Regions from separate parts of the Homo sapiens genome. Here region 2 is linked to region 1. Evidence: promoter capture Hi-C in human tissues and cell types (Jung and others, 2019). All regions are on one chromosome and are shown on one strand. The core of a region is centred on a gene start or on the middle of the fragment in contact, and the rest is flanking DNA. Distances in the headings are between cores, read along the strand shown.

Evidence for each region. Contacts are between HindIII fragments. The study calls those that stand out against the background at their distance.
Region 2: a fragment that was not itself captured here is called in contact with the fragment with the promoter of LAMA4 in region 1 in 1 of the 25 tissues and cell types used here (IMR-90 fibroblasts).

What each region holds. Positions count from the first base shown.
Region 1 is chr6:112,253,158-112,255,951 of GRCh38, reverse strand. It overlaps LAMA4 (laminin subunit alpha 4), which reads left to right and starts at 1,385. Exons shown (of 39, transcript NM_001105206.3): 1 at 1,385-1,493; 2 at 1,661-1,996. The coding sequence starts at 1,802. All of the region lies in intron 2 of LAMA4-AS1 (LAMA4 antisense RNA 1), which reads right to left. The HindIII fragment of the contact is 9,361 bases long and covers 1-2,794 here.
Region 2 is chr6:112,514,121-112,516,820 of GRCh38, reverse strand. No RefSeq gene overlaps it. Among named protein-coding and RNA genes, the nearest start is that of RFPL4B, 170 kb to the right of the region's middle. The HindIII fragment of the contact is 5,625 bases long and covers 1-2,700 here.

The DNA.
Region 1 (2,794 bases), core at 136-2,635:
TCCCAAAGTGCTGGGATTACAGGCATGAGCCACCACGCCCAGCCCTAAATGAGACAATTTATGTGATTTTTTTGCACATGGGAGGCACTCAAAAAATAAAAGTGTCCATTTCCTTCACCTCTGAATTCATACTCTTTATTTTAAAGTTGCAGTGTCGTGTATACAGATGTAAAAGAGAGCTTTGGAATCAGTGAGGCCTGGATCCAAACCCCATCTCTGCTTTCCACCAGCTGTGCGACCTTGGGCAAATGTCCTAGTCTCTCTGAACCTCACTTTCTTCTTCTGTAAAAGGAAAATAATGGTACTACTTTGCAGGAATGCTGAGGTTTACAAATAGCATATGCCAAGTATCTGGCACATGTTAGGTGCAAAATAAATGGTTTTGCTTACACTTAGATAAAATGACTTTTGTTCTATGAAATGGAGCTAATGATTAGGTTTTATGGAAAGGCTTTATTTATTTATTTTATGATTAGGTTATACAAAAATGCTTTATTTCACCTGGAAGCTTACCTGGGTGTCATTTTATGGTTGTCTCATCTGACCATTTTTAAACCATGGTTGGATCTTGTGGAAATGTTTAGAGCTCGTTATGAAGCCAATGTAAACAAAGGTACCTATCAGCTGTTGCAGACACTATCCCATCCACAGGGGCACCCCTGACATAGCTGTAGCCCAACTTCACCCTGAAGTCTTGGAAAGGTTACATGATTCAGACAGATGTAGTAGGCATGAGATTACAGGCCAAGAGGAAGAGGCCGGGGCTGTAGGCAGTATACTTGACAGGCTCATACACTGCAAGCCTTGTTCCGGGCCCCTTACAAAGCACCTCTTTAGGATGAAAACAAGATGGTCTTTGTAAATAAAAGTTCATGCATTTGGGTAATGAAGTCATTTTCCAGCGCTGCAGTGAAAGATATTCTTCTCCCAAGCCCTCTGGGTGAGGACTGGAGGGAGGAAGAGGGGTGGCCAGTGAATCTGAAGAGAAGATATTAGCACAAAGAGTGCAACAGTCTATCCCCCAGAAAAAACCCGAGAAACCTTGCTCAAGAAAGTGGGCACCCTGACCCTCTGCCTTCAGAGATCATCTACCTTTGGTTCCTGCCCTGGAATCCCTTTTCCACCCACTTTCCTGCAAACTAGCGGGGGCCACATAAAATATCTATGTAAATATAGATAAGACATCCGGTACCTTGACTACATAAATAAGAGTGGTGAGGAAGCGTCACAAAAGCTGAATATTCTTCTGGAGCCCTTGGAGGGGCTCCAAACTGAGAGGGGAGGGAAGACCGCAGGGAAAGGCGGACCTCAGTGTCTGAAAAGCCAGCTTAGAGTGGGAGGGCCTGGGAGTAGAAGGTAAAAAGGGAGTGGTGAGAATGAATGTGAGAAGGAAGCCAGGACAGCGCAGTCCCCAGTCCCGAACGGCCAGGGAGAGGAGGTGGCCTAGCGCTGGCGGGGCTCACCCCAATCCGTCTGCCTTTTGATGCCGTACTGTAAGCTCCGTCCATCTGTAGGTTCTTGAGCCAGAACCTCTGCGGGAAGGAGAAAAAGTGAAAGAGGGAGAGGGAGAGGGAGAGAGAGGGGGAGAAGGGGAGAGAGAGAGAGGGAGAGAGAGGCTGGAACTCTCCCTTACTCTCGCACTTTCCCTTTATTTCCTAAGCTGCTGGTTGCGCAGCCACCTCGGGATACTGCACACGGAGAGGAGGGAAAATAAGCGAGGCACCGCCGCACCACGCGGGAGACCTACGGAGACCCACAGCGCCCGAGCCCTGGAAGAGCACTACTGGATGTCAGCGGAGAAATGGCTTTGAGCTCAGCCTGGCGCTCGGTTCTGCCTCTGTGGCTCCTCTGGAGCGCTGCCTGCTCCCGCGCCGCGTCCGGGGACGACAACGCTTTTCCTTTTGACATTGAAGGGAGCTCAGCGGTTGGCAGGCAAGACCCGCCTGAGACGAGCGAACCCCGCGTGGCTCTGGGACGCCTGCCGCCTGCGGCCGAGGTACAGTGTCCCTGCCATTGCCACCCTGCTGGGGCACCTGCGCCCCCGCGGGCTGTGCCACACTCGTCCTTCTCTCTCTCTCCGCCTCTTTCCTCTCCCCAGTGCCTTGAGAGTTTCACCTGGGCTAGGTCAGTTCGGAAACTTGAAATAAAGAGTTTTCCTTTGTAAGTTGCATTTGGATGTTGAGAGTTGAAAGTTGAGGCTTCGGAATGTGTCTGCTCAAAGGGGTGAGAGTGCATGTGTTGGTGCTCTGAGTTCATCCGCTAGACTCTCACCGGGGACTGCAGCAGCACATCGGTGACTTCTGCCACTTGCGTGTCCCAGTAGTCATTTTGTCAAGCCACGGCACTTAACGTGTGTGCCCTGTCACTGGCTTCCTGCTCCTCTGTGCTGTTAGGACAGTGGGAACACTACTGCAGGATCTTTTTGTCTCATATTAGACAAGAAGTCTTCTGCAGCAGGGAAGGTGAGGGGGTGAGTGAGAGTGGCTGGTCATGAAAGGAGCTGTTAGACAACTGCTGAGAGGGTATCTTAAGTAGAAACGAGCCATTGTATTCCAGAAACAAGATGTTTCCATTAAAATCAAGCCTCAGGATATGCTATTGATAATATGTTTATTCAAAGAGCTGCTGTTTGAATACCTTACAATAGCTTTTAAGTTGGAAACAAAACCAGAATGTAGAGGTCTGGTAAAGGAGAATGAATCCAGAACAAGTGATTTAAGAACCCCTGAACTGAAACAGACAACAGCATGCCCATTGCATGGGACATGCTAAGAGGGAGGAAAATAAAGTCACC
Region 2 (2,700 bases), core at 197-2,696, 260 kb before region 1:
CACTATAAAGTATTCTCCAAGGAGAGGAGAAGAAAGAAAGGAAAAAAAGGGGAAAAAGTATGTAAGAAAACCTTACAGAATTACAAAACTAGAGGCTAAAAGGGTAAGTTGTCGTAGTTTTCACTGCTTTTGACCCTGAACTTTTGTAAAAACTACACCCCAGTAACTAAAATTGCCCTCCTTGTGTACAGCAGTATGATAAACCACATATAGAAGCCTTTTCTTTCTCAGACTTGAATGTCTTGGCTTGGTAACAGAAAGGAGCAATTAGCAGCTGTACAGACATAGTCAAATTGTACAACTATCTGAATCTTAGTTCTCCCAGTTAATAAGCTTTTGGGATTATTGTGGCAGCAAAATGAGATAATGTTTATAAAGTATATGACCCATAGTAGGCTTACAAAAAGTAGTAGCTATTATTATTGCTATCATTGCTTACTTTTGAAACGCAAGGTGCTAAATGGTTATAAACCACTGTTTTCAAGCCTAGCAGCATAGATTAGAAGCCTTTATTTCCCTTTACTAGCTACATATCCTTGAGTATTTGCTAAACCTCTCTAATCTTTGATTTCTTCATCCATAAAAGAAGGATAATAAATATTACCTACTTCACAAGGTTGTTTTAAACATTAAATGAAATGAAATACATGAAGTGTTCACAACAGTGTTTGAAAAATTGTGAGCACGAAGTCAATGTTTGCTATTATCGGCAGTAGTTGTAGCGTGGAAAGAGTGGATTTTCAAAAATGAGTTTATTTTGATTGAGAACTCAAATGTTTTATACATGCAGCCACTCAACTGGGCAATTTCGGTGATAGCAGGTACTGGCTGAACATGTCAGTTCACTCAACAGGAGAGATTCTGCTTTTGAGTTTCTTGCCTCACATTAAAAAAGGTGTTTCCATTCCAACTCTGACCCATCTTCCTGGTTAAGACAGACAAACAGGCAGACTGATACCTCTCTCATTAACATGTTTCTATATTCTTTGAGTATAGCCAAGTGGAGATTATATGAATCCTCATAGAGTTTCTCTTTCCTCCACATTGTGGTCCCCAGTTGCACAATGAGTGTTAAGTGGCTGAATGAACAACTCTACAACCATTGAAAGAAAGTTGCTGAGGGGGATGCAGTAATGGATTCTATAGTTGTACCCTGGACTCACACAGCATCGGGTTCAAACCTGGCTATCCCACTTACAACTCATGGCCTTACACAAGTTACTTAAATATCCAAACATCGGTTTTCTTTCAAGTAGAATGTTAGTATAGGTTATAGTCTCTTATCCAAAATCCTTAAGGTGAAATGGGTTCTGAGATTGAGGCTTTTTCAGATTTTAGAATGTTAATGAGAAATATTCTGTATATTATGTGACATCCCAGCCAGAGTCTCCAGCAGTTCCCTTTAATAAAGCATGCTAATATTTCAGCAGATAATGTAGGATTATTCACATTATTACATAAATAAACAACAATTTGCCACCAGTTGAGTTCAGGTGAGGTCATATTCTGCTACCAAATGAATTAGAAAATCAGCTTCCAAGTTGTAGTGGTTTTTCAATTTCAGTATTGCAGGAAAAGTACTGTGAATTTGAAATATTTGTTCCTGCCTCTACGGTGTTTTGGAACCCATTAAACAAAATTGTCACAATAAAGTGACTCTAAGTGATATTGGAGTATGAAGCCATACTCTCTAAAGAAAGAGTATTTATAACCCCAGGGACACTCAAAGACATAGAGTGACGTTTTCATACAGCAAATTCTCATGCAATTGTCTTTACATGCTCTCTTTTAATTGTATGTTAGTACTTTGTCAACTAATTCTTCTTAACTCAGCTTAAGTTCCCTGGTTCTTCATTATAATCACTCCCTTGCATTCCCCCATTTCCTTTGCCCCCTCCTGCTCAATGTTCTCCCTTGTAAAAAGACTAATCCTGATTAAATCCTACTCTTGCACCCACTTTGTGATTTCATTCCCACAGCTGAACATTGCTGGAGTAAACAATACAATCACACTGAATGGTCCGATGTTGAATTCATAACTTTGAATTCAGGTACACCCAGAGAGCTTTCTGGCTCTGCCACTCAGATCCCTTTACCTTCTCATTCTTCTATCTTCTAAAGGACTCTTTTTTTCATCTCCCTTGAAACCTATACTTGTACCCCCATCCTTTTTCTCAGATGATGGTCCTACTTTCTATTTCAATGGGAAAACAGAAGCACTCAGAGAGAAGCTTTCGTAAGCTCCCAGCACCACATCTACCCAATTATCTGCATCTATGCCTAAATTCTCTGCTGTCCTCCAGCTATAAAGGAAGTTGGCTGCCCTGGGCACAATCCTTAGATCATTTCTTCTCTACATCTAGGTTCTTTTCCTGGGTGAATGCAAATGGCTCCTCAACATCTCCACTTGGACATCTACTAGGCACTATAAACTCAAGCCATCCAAACTATACCCCGCATTTCCCCTCAACAAATCTGTTATCCCTCATTGCTGGAAATAGCATCTCCATTTTTGCAGTGTCTCAAATTTGAAAACTTCTATAATACTTAATTTCTGTTTCTCCCCTACCATACATCTCATTCCATCATCAGATCCTGTCAGTTCAAATTTCAGCATGTATTCAGACAACAAGCACTTCTTATCAGCTCCAAGGTCCCATTCTAATCCAAACCACCACCATCTCAAATTAACGCAATAGC